Regions from separate parts of the Homo sapiens genome. Here all the other regions are linked to region 5. The links are contacts of gene promoters, found by promoter capture Hi-C in blood cells and fetal thymus (Javierre and others, 2016). All regions are on one chromosome and are shown on one strand. Each heading gives the region's core, a stretch centred on a gene start or on the middle of the fragment in contact. The rest is flanking DNA. Distances are from core to core; before and after follow the strand shown. Region 1 holds the start of RBMX (RNA binding motif protein X-linked). Region 2 has its middle 61 kb from the start of RBMX. Region 3 overlaps SLC9A6 (solute carrier family 9 member A6). Region 4 has its middle 45 kb from the start of RBMX. Region 5 holds the start of BRS3 (bombesin receptor subtype 3). Region 6 overlaps SLC9A6 (solute carrier family 9 member A6).

Evidence for each region. Contacts are between HindIII fragments. The CHiCAGO score rates a contact against its expected background, and 5 or more counts as called.
Region 1: the fragment with the promoter of RBMX here is called in contact with the fragment with the promoter of BRS3 in region 5 in 9 of 17 cell types (naive CD8 T cells, neutrophils, naive B cells and 6 more); the score reaches 10.1 in naive CD8 T cells.
Region 2: a contact is called between a fragment that was not itself captured here and the fragment with the promoter of BRS3 in region 5, in 3 of 17 cell types (activated CD4 T cells, non-activated CD4 T cells and total B cells). The highest score is 10.0, in activated CD4 T cells.
Region 3: a contact is called between a fragment that was not itself captured here and the fragment with the promoter of BRS3 in region 5, in 2 of 17 cell types (activated CD4 T cells and non-activated CD4 T cells). The highest score is 7.1, in activated CD4 T cells.
Region 4: a fragment that was not itself captured here is called in contact with the fragment with the promoter of BRS3 in region 5 in 2 of 17 cell types (non-activated CD4 T cells and neutrophils); the score reaches 5.6 in non-activated CD4 T cells.
Region 6: a contact is called between a fragment that was not itself captured here and the fragment with the promoter of BRS3 in region 5, in 1 of 17 cell types (naive B cells). The highest score is 5.6, in naive B cells.

What each region holds. Positions count from the first base shown.
Region 1 is chrX:136,879,263-136,882,168 of GRCh38, forward strand. It overlaps RBMX (RNA binding motif protein X-linked), which reads right to left and starts at 1,463. Exons shown (of 9, transcript NM_002139.4): 1 at 1,335-1,463; 2 at 57-191. The coding sequence starts at 165. It overlaps SNORD61 (small nucleolar RNA, C/D box 61), which reads right to left and starts at 9; the gene lies at 1-9. RefSeq lists enhancers at 388-987, 789-848, 859-1,318, 988-1,586. The HindIII fragment of the contact is 13,799 bases long and covers 1-2,906 here.
Region 2 is chrX:136,940,773-136,943,540 of GRCh38, forward strand. No RefSeq gene overlaps it. Among named protein-coding and RNA genes, the nearest start is that of RBMX, 61 kb to the left of the region's middle. The HindIII fragment of the contact is 693 bases long and covers 1,146-1,838 here.
Region 3 is chrX:136,041,284-136,043,983 of GRCh38, forward strand. All of the region lies in intron 17 of SLC9A6 (solute carrier family 9 member A6), which reads left to right. Among named protein-coding and RNA genes, the nearest start is that of SLC9A6, 57 kb to the left of the region's middle. The HindIII fragment of the contact is 2,208 bases long and covers 339-2,546 here.
Region 4 is chrX:136,924,420-136,927,274 of GRCh38, forward strand. No RefSeq gene overlaps it. Among named protein-coding and RNA genes, the nearest start is that of RBMX, 45 kb to the left of the region's middle. RefSeq lists an enhancer at 799-938. The HindIII fragment of the contact is 6,538 bases long and covers 1-2,855 here.
Region 5 is chrX:136,486,627-136,489,326 of GRCh38, forward strand. BRS3 (bombesin receptor subtype 3) reads left to right here and starts at 1,321. Exons shown (of 3, transcript NM_001727.2): 1 at 1,321-1,922. The coding sequence starts at 1,489. The HindIII fragment of the contact is 2,387 bases long and covers 1-1,981 here.
Region 6 is chrX:135,991,151-135,993,954 of GRCh38, forward strand. All of the region lies in intron 2 of SLC9A6 (solute carrier family 9 member A6), which reads left to right. Among named protein-coding and RNA genes, the nearest start is that of SLC9A6, 7.1 kb to the left of the region's middle. The HindIII fragment of the contact is 6,390 bases long and covers 1-2,804 here.

The DNA of each region.
Region 1 (2,906 bases), core at 213-2,712, 390 kb after region 5:
CATCATAGCTTATATTTTAATTATAATAGCCCAGCCTGTACTGCCAGACAACTCACCTTCCACTATTCGTCCATATTTGCCAAATACTGCTTCAAGAGCTTTCTCATTTGTTTCCGTATTAAGCCCACCAATGAAGAGCTTTCCTGGGCGATCTGCTTCAACCATGTTTTTTTTTTTTTGGGCCGGTGAGTCTGTTGAAAAGGAATAGTATTACCTCACTGCAAAAAGTTCCTCAAGTTTATTGGACACTTTTACTTTCGCACATTTCTCATATTTTCCACTAAAACCATTGTTCCTTAATAACTAAAGAAAACGATAACGAGCTAAGCCTCAGCCACAGTAGGAAGCAATTTGAACTAAGTAGTTTAGTAACACTGCAATTTACATAAAACTGGTTAAAAGGGCCAACTTAACTTTTACCACTACCCTTGATCACCCTTAGCTGTTCTTAAGCAACAGCTGCTTAACATTTGAAAAAGCAACTTTTAGTTCCAGTCCTCTTGCCTTTGAAAGATTCAATTACTCATCACACCCTTCCTAACGATGGTTTTAAAAGACTCCCAAGGTCACAGGCTAGACACAGGACCTTAACACCAAGCCCTCTTCCAACGACTCCTCTTTTCCTCATTAGGATTCCCTACTAAATCCAAGGAGAAATGTGAAGTTTAAGCCAAGTTATGCCGCCCCTCTTCTTCACCGGCCCCCGCCCTACCGAAAATTCTACTATCCGGCCAAAAAGATAAAAACAAATCGTCAACATCGTTTGCTATTAAGTAACGGAACGCGGACGCACACACTAACACTCGACACTCCGTGACTGCAGCGGAACCTAATTAAAACTCGTCATTAAAAACCGCGTGTAAAAGACAAAATGGCGACACTTGGATTCAACCCAGAACCACCGACACTGGTCAGGGGACTAACTTTTACCACCAACATTGGCTGGGAACATTCAGAGGGCTTCTTCTCCGGGGCCGCCAATGAATACGAAGCCCGCAGCCCGCATGGAAGTCCACATGCCCATCATTAGCGCCAGCGCCATACCAATGCAGGTATCGCCGTGGTGCGGTCGCTCCTCGCCCCGCTCCAGCCTACAAAGCCCCGACCTCCGCTACCAACTCCCGCAGATGGCAGCCAAACTTTCTCGAGAAGCATACAACCAAACGGGCCCCCTCATTTGTTTTCCCTCGACCCCCTCAGCTTTATTTAAATAGGTCGGAACCTTTGGGTTCTTAAAATGGCGCCCGCCACCCCCATCTCCAGGGAGATATAATCCCCAGTCCTAACACGGGGAGAGTGTCACGAAAAACGGACTGAGGAAAGGAGACACGTACCGGAGGGGTGACAATGGGTTCAAGCTCCAACGAGCTCGGCGATAGGGGCTTCCTAGCAGCTCAGCACCAGTGGCGGCTGCCGGGTGCGAGGACCGAACCGCGAAGCCGCTAGCACTACTGCGCAACGAGGGCGAACAAAGGAGACAGCAAACTTTATACTGCCCGGGAACGAGGCTGAAGGACCCGGATGGAAACGGAGCTTAGAATTTGAAACGCAAAGGGAGGGGGGAAGTAGTTCCCAGTCTCCCCATTGGCTGGCTCCTCTGTCATTCACCCTTCTCTCCTCCCTTTTTCCCGGGCCCTCGGTGTTGGGTCGACAGACCTTTCTAACCGTTTTCTCTACCCCCACCCGTTCTTTACAAACGCGCTTTTTTTGCTTTACGCTAAAATGGTGCACAGGCTTCCTTTAATAAAGAACTGAAGTTTATTGAGCGTCCTAGTGGGCCGGGCACGGTGCAAAACTTTACTTTTACTTTTCCATTAACTCTTCTAATTGTCAAAATGTGATGAGGGTAGATACTCCTACTATACCAATTTTGCAGAAACGGAAAACAAAGAAGTTTTGGCAATATAATATATTTTCAAAAATTGTCTTTAACAAGTGTTTTTAGTGAGTGTGGGAATTTCTGATAAATACATGTAAATTTCAGATGAGTAAAAAACGTACAAAACAGCATGCAGATAGTACATTCATATAGAACAATTACTGAGCACCTTGTAAATGGTGGGCTCTGGGCTAGGCCAGGAAAATACAACTCCAGGGAAAAGACAAGAGTCAGGCCTGTGGGTAAGGATGCCGGATTTAATAAATGAAAATACCAGGCCGGGTGCAGTGGCTCACGCCTGTAATCCCAGCACTTTGGGAGGCCAAGGTCGGTGGATCACGAAGTCAGGAGATGGAGACCATCCTGGCTAACACGGTGAAACCCCGTCTCTTTTTAAAAATACAAAAAATTACCCAGGCGTGGTGGCACGCGCCTGTAGTCCCAGCTACTCGGGAGGCTGAGGCAGGAGAATCCGGGAGGCGGAGGTTGCAGTGAGCCAAGACTGCGCCACCGCACTCCAGCCTGGGCAGGCGACAGAGCGAGACTCCGTCTCAAAATAAAAAAGAAAATGCGGGACGCTAATTTATTCTGCGAAGCTGTTAAAAAATTTTAAATAAAAATATGGGACGCGGCCGGGGCGCGGTGGCTCATGCCTGTAATCCTAGCACTTTGGGAGGCCGAGGCGGGCAGATTGCCTGAGCTCAGGGGTTTGAGACCAGCCTGGGCAACATGGTGAAACCCCGTCTCTACTAAAATAAAAATAAAAAATAAAAAAATTAGCCGGGCGTGGCGGCGTGTGCCTGTAGTCCCAGCTACTCGGGAGGCTGAGGCAGGAGAATTGCTTGAACCCAGGAGGCGGCGGTTGCAGTGAGCCAAGATCATACCACTGCACTCCAGCCTGGCAACAGAGCGAGACTTCGTCTAAAAAAAAAAAAAGGGACGCCCAGTTAAGTTTAAATTTCAGATAACGAATACTTTTTTTAGTATAGTATGTCCCAAATCTCATATTTTAAAAATTCGCTGTTTA
Region 2 (2,768 bases), core at 242-2,741, 450 kb after region 5:
TGTGATCTTGGCTCACCGCAACCTCTGCCTCCCAGGTTCAAGCGATTCTGTCTCAGCCTCCCAAGTAGCTAGGATTACAAGCATGTGCCAACACGCCCGGCTAATTTTTGTATTTTTGGTAGAGACAGGGTTTCGTCATATTGGTCAGGCTGGTCTCGAACTCCTGACCTCAGGTGATCCACCCGCCTCGGCCTTCCAAAGTTATTGGATTACAGGTGTAAGCCACCGCGCCTGGCCTGGAGGAATAGTTCTTGAAGTGTGTTCTGAGATCAGCAGCATTGATATCACCTGACATACAGAATCTCAGGCCTCATTTAGGATCTAATGAATCAATCTGCATTGTAGCAAGACCCCTGAGTGATTTGTATGAACTTTGATTTTTTTTGTTTTTCAACGTATTACTATCTTTATTATGGTATAGAGTAGTATTTTATACATAGCTCATTTTATAGCAAAAACATTTATGTACAACTGTAGAGAAACCACTACACAGATAGCTCCAATTTAAATTAGAAAACATTTTGCCGGGCGTGGTGGCTCACACCTGTAATCCCAGCACTTTGGGAGTCCGAGGCGGGCGGATCACCTGAGGTCAGGAGTTTGAGACCAGCCTGGCCAACATGATGAAACCCCGTCTCTACTAAAAATAAAAAAATCAGCTGGGCATGGTGGCCGTGCGCCTGTAGTCCTAGCTACTCGGGAGGCTGAGGCAGGATTCATGCCAATCGCTTGAACGTGGGAGGCAGAGGTTGCAGTGAGCTGAGATTAAGCCACTGCACTCCAGCTTGTGCAACAGAGTGAGACTCTGTCTCAAAAAAAAAAAATTAAAAAAAAATTGCAGCTTATTTATCTCTACAAGGTGTTGCCAACGAGAAATAAAAGAGGAATTAAAAGGTTTAGGGCATATTTATAAATAACAGGAGTAAACATAGCTTCTAAGAGATGCCAGGAAATGCCTTACCAATGTCAAGGACAATCACTCATGCTTTTTTATGTCACTTCTGATATTTGGAAACAGAATTAAGGTGATGGACTGTGAGGTCTGACTCAGGCTGCTTGCTCATATTTGAATGGATTTGGTTAAAAAGGTAGTAAACAAAGTGTGATCATACAGGAAGCTAATCTCACCAGCTATGTGAAAATCAAGCTTAATGCTTTGTAGTCACATCTCATATTCTCATACTCAGAGGAAAAAAGCCAAGAAAATAATCTTCTACAGTTGTATTTATTCTACACTGCCTACAGAAATAGTTTATGTGTACATACAATCAAACTTTTATCTAATCGCTGTAAAGGTCATTTATATAGGCCCCCCGAGGGCAAGGACTGTGTTATAATTTATCTTTTTCAGAATTAAACAAGCTGCCCAAGGCCATGGAAGTGAGTTAGACCTAGCTGTTTGCTAGGTCTACAGTCTTGTGTTTTATTTTAGGCACTGTGGCTGGCTAATAATTTCCCTGACTTTTACCATAGTTAATCATCTCTTTTTCTTTTCTTTCTTTTTTTTTAAGAGACAGGGTCTCACTCTGTCACCTAGGATGGAGTGCAGTGGTGCCATCATAGGTCACTGTAGCCTTGAACTCCTGGGCTCAAGTGATCCTCCCACCTCAGCCTCCTGAGTAGCAGGGACTACAGGCATGCACCACCATGTCTGGCTGTATTTTTATTTTTATTTGTAGAGATGGGGTCTCGCTATGTTGCCCTGGCTGGTCTTGAACTCCTGGCCTCAACTGATCTTTCCACCTCGGCCTCCCAAAGTGCGGGGATTACAAGTGTGAGCCGCTACACCCGACGTCTTATTCTTAAAATACTTGCTTCATTTGAGTTTTAGGTTACCAAGCTTTCCTGGTTTCCTGTCTCACTGGTCACTTCTTACTGGTCACTTCTTAATCTCCTCCTCATTTTTGTAAACTCCTAATGTGGGAGAGCCCTCAGACTCAACTCAGTCTTTGAACTTTTTATCTTCTTTAGTTATACTCATACTTTGGTAGTCTTACCTGTCTCATGGTGTTACCATGATGACTGTTAGATCTCTAGACTTGTATATTTATCTGTCTATTTGACATGTCTGCTTGTTTTTTTTTGTTTGTTTGTTTGTCTTTTTTTTTTTTTAGACAGAGTCTTGCTCTGTTGACCAGGCTGGAGTGCAGTGGCGTGATCTCTGCTCATTGCAGCTTCTGCCTCCTGGGCTCAAGTAATTCTCCTGCCTCAGGCCCAAGCGATTCTCCTACCTCAACCTCCTGAGTAGCTAGGATTACAGGTGCGCACCACCATACCTGGCTAATTTTTGTATTCTTAGTAGAGACGGGGTTTCAGCATGTTGGCCAGGCTGGTTCTGAACTCCTGACCTCAAATGATCTGCCCGCCTTGGCCTCTCAAAGTGTTGGGACTACAGGCATGAGCCACAGCGCTTGGCTAGGACATGACCACTTGGATGTGCTTCCCCTGTTGTTTTTCCCATCTCAGTAAGTGGCAACTCCATCTTTGCAGTTGCTCAGGCCACAAATCATGGCATCACCCTTAATTCCTCTTTTTCACTCTTCACTCATACCCCCTATTCAGTCCAATCCTTTGACAGACCATGTGGCTCTCTCCCTTTGAAATATTTCAGAATCCACCACTTCTCAACTCCTCTACCACTATCATCTGGTCCAAGATATCATTTTACCTCACTTGGACTATTGCAAAAACCTAGCCAGTCTCCCTGCTGCTACCCTTATTTTCTAGGGGTCTGTTCTCAATACAGTATTCAGAGCATTTCTTTGGAA
Region 3 (2,700 bases), core at 193-2,692, 450 kb before region 5:
ACATGCACCACACACACCTCCCTCCCCGTGCCCCCATTCCCTGTGAGTGAACCTCATGTGAAACCAGATTGTATAAGAAATGGACAGGAGAGAGTAGGCAGAGTAGGGGTGGCATCTGGGCCAGGGAGGAGCATCCTACGGCTTTGTGTTATGTCGTGTCAGTGCATGTTTCTGACAGACTGTGCCTGTGAGATGGGGCACACACCCCATGTTGCCCCTCCTCTCCCTTCCACATTGCCCAGGCTCGCCTCTCAAACATTGTCTCCATTTCCACCATGCCCTGTTAACCCACATAACTGTGCAGAGAAGTCAGCCAGCTCTGTTGGTTCAGGCAGTGAAGCTTGGCTCTTGGATTCCAGAGACCCACTCGCTGTCACCAAAAGCCAGAAGAGGTCCACAACAAACCTGTGTCCTTGGAATGTAGCGAAACACAACAGGCTCCCTAGAGCAGCTGTAACAAAGTACCAAAACCGAATGGCTTAAACAATAGAAACTTATCATCTCTTATTTCTGGAGGCTAAAATCCAAAGTCAAGTTGTTGGCCGGGTCAGTTCCTTCTAGGCTGTGAGGGAGAATCTGCTCCAGGCCTCTCTTCTAACTCCTGGTGGCTTCCTGGCTATCTTGGACCTTCCTTGACTTACAGATGCATCACTATGTATCTCTACTTTCATCTTCACATGGGGTTCTACCTGTGTGCATGCCTACTTCCGTGTCCAAATTTCTCCTATTCATAAGGACACCAGTCATATTGAATCAGGGCCTACCTTATTTCCAAACAAGACCCTATTTCCAAACAAGGTTACATTCACAGGTGCTGGGGGTTAGGACTTCAACATCTTTTGGTGGGGGGTTGGGGAGGGACACAATTTAACCCATAACAACCATCACACTTAATTTTTTTTTTTTTTTTAGACAGAGTCTCACTCTGTCACCCAGGCTGGAGTGCAGTGGCGCGATCTTGGCTCACTGCAACCTCTACCTCTCAGGTTCAAGCGATTCTTATGCCTCAGCCTCCCAAGTAGCTGGGATTACAGGTGTGCACCACCACACCCAGCTCATTTTTCTGTATTTTTTAGTAGAGACGAGGTTTCGCCATGTCAGCCAGGCTGGTCTTGAACTCCTGACCTCAAGTGATCCACTCACCTTGGCCTCCCAAAGTGTTGGGATTACAGGCATGAGCCACTGCACCTGGCCCAAACGTAATTTTTTATATTATCTTTGTTAACTGCTTTTTTTAGTTATAACACTAGCAAGCTCATGGCCAAATATCCATACAGTATGGAATGTACAAAATGAAAAATCAAAGTTGCCTTCCTCCTACCTGCAGTCCTCGAGGCAGTCTTTATTATAGGCTCACTGTGGATACTTCCTGATATATTTTATTGCAAATAAATATGTGTATATATGGCTTTGTTATTGTTTTACACAAATGGGATTATAATAGGCATATTGTCCCATTACTTGCTTTTTTTTTCAATTACTGACACATCATGGATACCTTTATATGTGAGTATGTTAGATGTCTTACCTTCTCTTTTCATGGCTACGTCCTATTCCATTTCATAGCTGTAGCAAAATTCATGTATTCAGTCTCTTATGGATAGATGTTTCAGTCATTTCCTTTTTTGCTATTATAAACAATACTTATAGTGAATATTCTTTTACATATAAACTTACCTAACTATGTAAAAGTATATAGAATAGATTTTAAAGGTAAAATCACTGGGTCAAAAGGCATGTGCATTTTAAAATTTGATAGATATTGCCCCAAACCTCAAACTTAATAAAGACACTAGAAGGTGCTGAAGAGCCCCTGTGGACCTGTGAAGGAGCCACAGAGCTTGTGAGTATTGCTGAATTAAGTGATAGATACTGGTTAGATAGACTTACTGTCCTAACTAGATTAGACAGGAAGGGATTTGGGCTGGTTGGTGGATATGAGTTTGTTTGTTTGTTTTTGAGATGGGTTCTGGCTGTGTTGCCCAGGTTGGCCTCAAACTTCTGGGCTCAAGCAGTCCTCCTGCCTTAGCCTCCCCAGTAGCTAGGACAATAGACATGTGCCACCCATACCCAGCCGTTTATTTTTCAGTTCACACTTTTTTTGGTCTTTGAGTATTTAGGGGAATTTCTAGCAACAGCAGATTAAATTCCTTTTTAGATTTTGTCTAATAGTCTTCTCAGTCTATTTGATGGTCTTAGACAAATTCAAAATTTTCAAACAGACATGGGATTTAGAAAGCTGGAGAATATACTTCCCTCAAGGAGCATCAATGACAGACTGTTTTATGCTAGATCAATGTGAATATTTAGAATGATCCTTTCTCTTTAAAGTCATTTAGAAAAAATGACTTGTTCTGTTTTTTAAAAGTAATATATACTCATTATAATAAAATTTCAGATAATACAGAAACATAAAGAAGAAAAGACTTTTCTATACACACATTTTTTATTTGCCAATATGGGACTATGTATTCCTGATTCTTTTCCCTTTTGTAGAACCTTATTTAAGTATACTATTTTGGTCGTAATATTTCCATGAGAACCAAAGCTTATGGAGCTGCAGTGAGGGCTTGATATGTTTCTCTGTACCCCAAACTGTATTAGGTGGTTGGACTACGTAGCATTCACCCTGTGTCTTCACCACATGTGAATCGGTCTGCTCCTGCCACACACTAGACTCTAAGCCTCTTGAGGGCAGAT
Region 4 (2,855 bases), core at 71-2,570, 440 kb after region 5:
ACCACCGTGCCTGGCTGATTTTCATATTTTTAGTAGAGATGGAGTTTTACCAGGTTGGCCAGGCTGCTCTTGAACTCCTGACCTCAGATGATCTGCCCACCTTGGCCTCTCAAAGTGCTGGGAATACAGGTGTGAGCCACCACGCCTAGCCACAGTATAGTTTAAACTTGACTTTTTATATGTCTTTTGTCAACATTTTACTATGAGCATTTTCAAACAGAAAACTTGGGTGGGCCAGGCGCAGTGGCTCACGCCTATAATCGCAGCACTTTGGGAGGCTAAGGTGGGAGGATCGTTTGTGCCCAGGAGTTGGAGATCAGCCAGGGCAATATTGCAAGACCCCATCTCTCCAAAAAGTTTTTAAAAATTGGTGCATGGTGGCATGCATCCGTAGTCCCAGCTACTCAGGAGGCTGAGGTGGGAGGATCGCTTGAGCCCAGGAGGCTGAGGCTACAGTGAGCTGTGATAGCACAACTGCACCCCAGTCTGGGTGATAGAGTGATACCCTGTCTCAAAAAAAAAAAAAAAAAAAATAGAATTATATAGTGGACACTCATCTATCCAACATTTATATTCTGCAATTACCATTTTGCTCTATTTGATTTATCACATATCTGTCCATCCCTGTATCATTCAATCCAATCCATTGTGCATGTTCCTGTGTCCTATATTTCCTGCAAATTGGCAGCTGGATCCAGTGGCTTGATCAGATTCAGGTTTGGCTTCTTTGAGAAGGTGAGGTGGCAGTTGTGTTCTTTCATCAGGAGGCACATGATTTTTTTTGTCTCTCTTTTTTGTTGTGATACCTGGGTTCATTCATTCATTAGGGGCTGCAGCATGCTGAAAGAAAACAGAAGCCTGTGGAGTGAGCCAAGATCAACCAGGAAATAAACCCTTTCCCTTGCGATGTCTCTCCAGCGCCCTCTACTGACAAACCTGCTTTAGTGCCAGTTTGTAGAGGTAAACTATTTAAAGGGTCTGAATTATTTTCATGGGGGGCAAAACTCATGAATTTGGAGCTGAGAGGCAATATATCAATAACAGACACACCTTACACGCATGTACGGACCAGATAAGGAAAACTCTACATATTTCCAGAAACTTATCTGTGTGCAGCTCTGTTCTCTCTGGTCCTCTGCTCCATGAATTCTAGTGCCTTTGGCCTCCCTGGACTTTGAACTTTGTTTTCTCAACCCTAGGAGACTGCAGGGCTGTGCATGGATACCTTTTCCCTGTGTCACAGCCTGGAAATTTTATCTAGGAAGTAAGCTGGAGGCAATAGTAGGGCTTATCTTATTTGTTCCCCTTCCCTAGGTGATCACTCTTATATTTCTTGTCCAATGTTTGGAAACTGTTGCTTTACATATTTTACTCATTTTTAAAGTTGTGTAAGTAGGAGGGTAAATCTGGTCTTTGTTATTCTACCATGTCTTGGGCCAAGAAGGAAGTCCCACCTCCTTATTTTCTTTTTTAAGAAACATATTTTTATTTATTTATTTATTTATTTATTGAGATGGAATTTCGCTCTTGTCGCCCAGGCTGGAGTGCATTGGCACAATCTCAGCTCACTGCAACCTCTGCCTCCCAGGTTCAAGTGATTCTCCTGACTCTGCCTCCAGAGTAGCTGGGACTACAGGCACCTGCCACCATGCATGGCTAATTTTTGTATTTTTGGTAGAGATGGGGTTTCGCCATGTTGGCCAGGCTGATCTCGAGCTCCCGACCTCAGGTCATCCACCTGCCTTGGCCTCCCAAAGTGCTGGGATTACTGGCGTGAACTACTGTTCCCGGCCTGTTTTATTTTTAATTTTAATTTTTACTTTTAAAGTTGACAAAGTGTTTATATTTACGGTGTACAACATGCTGTTTTGATATATGCTTGCATTGTGGAATGACTGAATCAGGCCACCTTTTTTTTTTTTTTTTTTTTTTGAGACAGAGTTTCACTCTTGTTGCCCAGGCTGGAGTGCAGTGGCGCAATCTTGGCTCACCGCAACCTCCACCTCCTGGGTTCAAGCGATTCTCCGGCATCAGCCTCTTGAGTAGCTGGAATTACAGACATGTGCCACCATGCTTGGCTTATTTTGTATTTTTAGTAGAGACGGGTTTGTCCACGTTGGTCAGGTTGGTCTTGAACTCTTGACCTCAGGTGATCTGCCTGCCTCTGCCTCCCAAAGTGTTGGGATTATAGGCGTGAGCCACCGTGTCCGGCCTTGCTTTCTTTTTGTATGCATTTGCTTGGTATAACTTTGCTTATCCTTCTATTTTTAAGTTTTCAGAATCTCTTTGTTTTAGATATGTCTCTTGTGTACAACATATTGTTTGTTTGTTTTTGAGACCGAGTCTTGCTCTGTCACCTAGGTTGGAGTGCAATGCCATGATCTTGGCTCACTGCAACCTCTGCCTCCTGTGTACAAGCAATTCTCCTGCCTCAGCCTCCCAAGTAGCTGGAATTACAGGCATGCGCCATCACACCTGGCTAATTTTTGTTTTTTTAGTAGAAACGAGGTTTCACCATATTGGTCAGGCTGGTCTCGAACTCCTGACCTTTTGATCCACCCGCCTCGGCCTCCCAAAGTGCTGGGATTACAGGCGTGAGCCACCACACTCAGCCTATGTCTACACTTTTTATTTATTTTTTAATTTTACTATTATTTTTTGACAGAGTCTCGCTTTGTTGCCCAGGCTGGAGTGCAGTGGCACAATCTTGGCTCACTGCAACCTCCACCTCTGGATTCAAGTGATTCTCCTGCCTCAGCCTCTCAAGTAGCTGGGATTACAGGCATGCGCCACCATGCCCAGCTAATTTTGTATTTTTAGTAGAGATGGGGTTTCACCATGTTGGCCAGGCTGGT
Region 5 (2,700 bases), core at 71-2,570:
GCAGCTTCAATTAGTAACTACACTCCAACTGCTAGCTTCCTGCTCCCAAACAGTGCCCCCACCACAAACACATACATATAAAGCACATGGTTATGTTTTCTGTAAAAAGTAGCTTCTCTGGCTGGTACTGAGGTGGTTGCCTTAAATGTGTACTTCTTTCAGTTGATGTAAACATCATCTACATGCCCATCATCCCTGGAGTCACCTATTTCATTTCTTCATCTGCAAATGATGATTTTCATTCTTAAAAGTTCTTTTGTGTCAGGAGCTTGAGCAGTGATGTTCTGTATTGTTTTGTTTTGGAATAAGGCAGGTTAGGTTCCCTTTAACCATTTCTAGAGAGAAAAATCCTAAACAGCCCCTTAAAAGAAAACATGGCATTAAAACAGACAGTCAAACAGTAAAAAGTGGTTTTATTAGGACATTTAGAGACAAAGCAACTGGTGCTGTGCCTGGATTTTTCATCTCTTAAAAGGTTGTTTTGGCTGGGTGTGGTGGCTCATGCCTGTAATCCCAGCACTTTGGGAGGCTGAGGCAGGCGGATTGCCTGAGGTCAGGAGTTCAAGACCAGCCTGGCCAACATGGTGAAACCCTGTCTCTACTAAAAATACAAAAATTAGCCAGGCATGGTGGCGGGCGCCTGTAATCCCAGCTACTCGGGAGACTGAGGCAGGAGAATTGCTTGAACCCAGGAGGTGGAGGTTGCAGTGAGCCAAGATCGAGCCACTGCACTCCAGCCTGGGTGACAGAGTGAGACTCCATCTCAAAAAAAAAAAAAAAATTAAAAAGGTTGTTTTGATAGTGTACAGCACAGCCTGGATAACTGCAAAGTTGGGGTTTACCACGTGACAGAGCTAGGTATTAAGCCCAAGTGACCTGAATGATCACTCCTTGGAGGTGACATAAACCCTGTCGAAGTGTAAATGATCTGTTGCTTCACCATCTCTCTGATATTAAATTTTGAGGAGTGGGTTCAAGGTTGTGCTTCAGGGGACACCTACACTTATTTATCATGTAAAACAAAATGCACTAGACTACCATGTGATTGCAGGGGGATAAATGGTTTTTTTCTTAAAAAAAATTGACAAAACCTATATAGACCATCCTGGGTAGATATGAAAACAGGGTGATTCTAATAATAAATAAGACGATTTAATAGGGTCTAGTTGGTCCCAAGATTCCCCAACAGGGAAGAATAAGCAACTGCAGAGCATTTCCCCAGCCCCCTCCCTCTCCTTATGACAGGACACGCCAATAAAACTCCACCTCCTACTCTTCAGTGCCAGATGGGTAAGCATTTAGCCAAGCATGCTGGGAGACACACAGAACTGAAGCAAAGGAGTATCTGGATGTCTTGGATTTTCTTCCCATTCTGTTCTGTTCTGTTCTCCTAATACCATCTCGTTACTAGACGTAGGCATTGGACGTGACAATCAACTGCATTTGAACTGAGAAGAAGAAATATTAAAGACACAGTCTTCAGAAGAAATGGCTCAAAGGCAGCCTCACTCACCTAATCAGACTTTAATTTCAATCACAAATGACACAGAATCATCAAGCTCTGTGGTTTCTAACGATAACACAAATAAAGGATGGAGCGGGGACAACTCTCCAGGAATAGAAGCATTGTGTGCCATCTATATTACTTATGCTGTGATCATTTCAGTGGGCATCCTTGGAAATGCTATTCTCATCAAAGTCTTTTTCAAGACCAAATCCATGCAAACAGTTCCAAATATTTTCATCACCAGCCTGGCTTTTGGAGATCTTTTACTTCTGCTAACTTGTGTGCCAGTGGATGCAACTCACTACCTTGCAGAAGGATGGCTGTTCGGAAGAATTGGTTGTAAGGTGCTCTCTTTCATCCGGCTCACTTCTGTTGGTGTGTCAGTGTTCACATTAACAATTCTCAGCGCTGACAGGTGAGTTTCTTTTCTCCATTATATTTGCCAGGATGTGAAATTGGGCAAAAAGAAAGGAAAGCTTGTACTTAGCATTTACTGGCTACTATTCTGCTTTTCTCACACTCTGTAACGTGGATGTGAGATTGGAAAATCTGGTGGCATTTAAAATAAAAGTTAGTGTAAGAATGTTAAAATTTCTGTGTTAGCACGGAGGAGAAGTTGAAATTGCATGCTTTATGGATAATTTATTCTTATTGTTTGCTCGGAAGTATACTGAACGGGGTTTTTATTTTTCTCCAGTTTATTAAGTAAAGCAAATTGTTCCAGGTGTAAAGGAAAAAAATTCATGCTTTATACATTAGTGCAGCCTAGTGGTGCAATATAGTCAACATGAAAACCAGGATAGGTGTGAAATTGACCACATATGTATAACTGTATATTGGAAGAGTGGTAAAAAGACACAGGCATCTAATTTATTTGAAATTCATCAAATTAGCTAATGGCAGAAAAACGGTGAGGTTTTCAACTCCCTGGTAACTTAGTGTAATGTCATCACGTAATTCTACTTGTTTTCTCTGTAGGCATTCAGTGACATTATCATTTCCAGAGAAATAAATTAATCTTGGTTGACTTTTAGAGCTCTGTGGAGAGAGCGTGTGAGATCCTCTTGCAGTCAGGGTGTTCAGATTCTGTGTTAGGATATTTTCAGTCCAAGTACTCTGTTTTTCTGTGTTCCTATTGTAGAATAACTGTAAAAACATGAAAAAATTTGAGGCTCCAAATGTTAAAAATGATG
Region 6 (2,804 bases), core at 231-2,730, 500 kb before region 5:
TACTACTGTTCACGAATGAATCATTACTACTCTAAAAAATATATGTGACTATAAATTGACCAGAAGGATCCCTCCTCTCTGCTCCCTCCCTGCTTCCTGGGCAACTACTGCCTTTTTTTTTTTTTGGACAGAGTTTTTGCTCCATTGTCCTGGCTGGAGTGCGGTGGCATGATCTCAACTCACTGCAACCTCCACCTCCTGGGTTCAAGCAACTTTCCTGCCTCAGCCTCCCAAGTAGCTGGGATTACAGGTGCCTGCCACCACGCCCGGCTAATTTTTGTATTTTTAGTAGAGATGAGGTTTCACTATGTTGGCCAGGCTGGTCTCGAACTCTTGACCTCAAGTGATCCACCCGCCTCGGCCTCCCAAAGTGCTAGGATTACACGTGAGCCACTGCGCCCGGCTGGCAACGACTGCTCTTATACCTCCTCATTTCTGCTTCATCACTTCTCACTTGGGTCTGGTTTCCACTCCTGCTACTCCACTGAAACTGCTCTTATCAAGGTCACCTATGGCCTCCTTGTTGCCAAACCCAATGGATACTTCTAATGCCTGCCTTACTCGACTTTACTATAGCATTTGATAGTTTTTATCACTTCCTTCTCCTCAAAAATGAATTTTTTCCCTTTCTTCCTGACTTTGCCACCACTGGTTCCTTTTTTTTTCTACTCCTGTGGGTTTTCCTTCTCAGACTCCTTCATCAGCTCCTTCTCCTCTAGCAGCCCCTTAATGTTGGCTGTTAATAGATCAAACCCCAGATCTATATCATAGTCTTCTTCCCATTTTACTTGCTCCCCTGGCGATCTCATCTACATCTGACTTCAACCATCTTATGACTGCACAGTGTATATCTCCAGTTGAGACCCCTCGCTTTAGCTCCAGATACCACATACTCAACTATGCGTGTGTCACAAGTACATCCAACTCAACGTGTCCAAAACTGAATGTAGCCTTTTCCCCTGTAAATCTGTTCATCTGTGTATGTTCCTTACCTCATTGAATGTCCTTGTTATCCCCCTCGGTGCTCAGGCCAACTTACCCACCTGGTTACCAAATCAATTAAGGTTCCTCTTAGTCTTTCATCTCCCTTCCTCAGTCACTAAATCTTCCTAAAATATAATACCTTCAAAAAATCCTTCTCGCCTCCTGTCAGTACTCTCTTAGGTTAGGACCTAAACTCTTATTGCCTGAATGCCTACAGTAGCCCTGTATCTAGCCTTTTAGACCCTCTTTAGTCTAGACCAGTCTTTCTAAAGTAGAAATCTGCTATCAAGCCTCTGCCTTCTATGACTTCATTTTACTTTTGGGATAAACTTCAAATTCCCTTCCCCAACAGATAAGATCTTTTATGATTCAACTCCTGCCAATCTTTCAAACCTCAACTCTTGTCACTTTATAAGCCAGCCATACTAAACTACTTGATTCACTGGATGGGCTGTGTTGTCTCCATCCTTGACTGATATGTACTACTATTCCCCTACGTGGAATATACCCATTTCTTCTAGTTTGTTACCTGCCCAGGTGACATCTCTGGAAAGACTTCCCTAATGTCTTACTCCCCCAGGGTTGCATAGTTGTCTCTTTTCTGTTTTTATAATACCTTGTATACATATATATATATAGCATTATGATTGTTTATTCAGTCTGTTTTCACCAACTGGACCGAGTTTTCCTTGACATTATGATTGTTTATTCAGTCTGTTTTCACCAACTGGACCGAGTTTTCCTTGAAGGAGGGACCTTGTTTTCATCTCTGAACCCTGGAGGCCTACCTAGCATAGTACACTCATTCACGTATTAAAAGAATGGCTGGCTAGTCAGAATGAAAGGCAATAGGAAGGTAAAATGCAGCTAGTAGTGGTATACTATGCATGGAGTTAAGGAAAGTTCCAGAAGTTTGGGTTTTATTTGTAGTTGAGGTATGTCCATACAATGAAATATCGTTTGGTCGTAAAAGTAAATGAGGTTCTGATGCATGCTACAACATAGATAAACCTTGAAAATATGCTAAGTGAAAGAAGTCAGACACAAAAGGCCATATATTGTAGGAGTTCATTTATATGAAATGTCTAGAAAAGACAGGTCCATAAAGAAAGAAAGTAGATGAGTGGTTGCCAGGGGCTGTGGATTCGGGCATGGGGGAATGGAGAGTGACTGCTAGTAGGTGTGGGGTTCTTTTTGGAGGGAAGGAAAATGTTCTAGAATTAGATAGTGGTGATTGATGTTCAACTTTGTGAATACACTAAAGACCACTGAATTGTACAGTTTTTAAAAGGATAAACTTTTGGTGTTTGAATTAGATATCAGTAAAGCCATTACTAAACAATTATAGTCGATCAATATAGTTTTATAGGGCTGGGCATGGTGGCTCAGGTCTGTAATCCCAGCAGTTTGGGAGGCCGAGGTGGATGGATTACAAGGTCAGGAGTTCGACCTTGGTCAGGAGCCTGGCCAACATGGTGAAACCCCATCTCTACTAAAAATACAAAAATTAGCCAGGTGTGTTGGTGTGAGCCTATAATCCCAGCTACTTGGGAGGCTGAGGCAGGATAATTGATTGGACCCGGGAGGCGGAGGTTGCAGTGAGCCGAGATCATGCCACTGCACTCCAGCCTGGGCAACAGAGCAAAATTTCGTCTCAGAAAAAAAAAAAATTTAGTTTTACAGTACCTAGAACATTGTGCATATTTGAATGTCAGTAGGATGATCCAGCAATCTGTTTGATGTCATAGTGCCAGATTCAGGACTTCTATTCCATGTTTTGATTTTGAAGCAGATTTTTAAAATTAAAATCTGATCTTTTA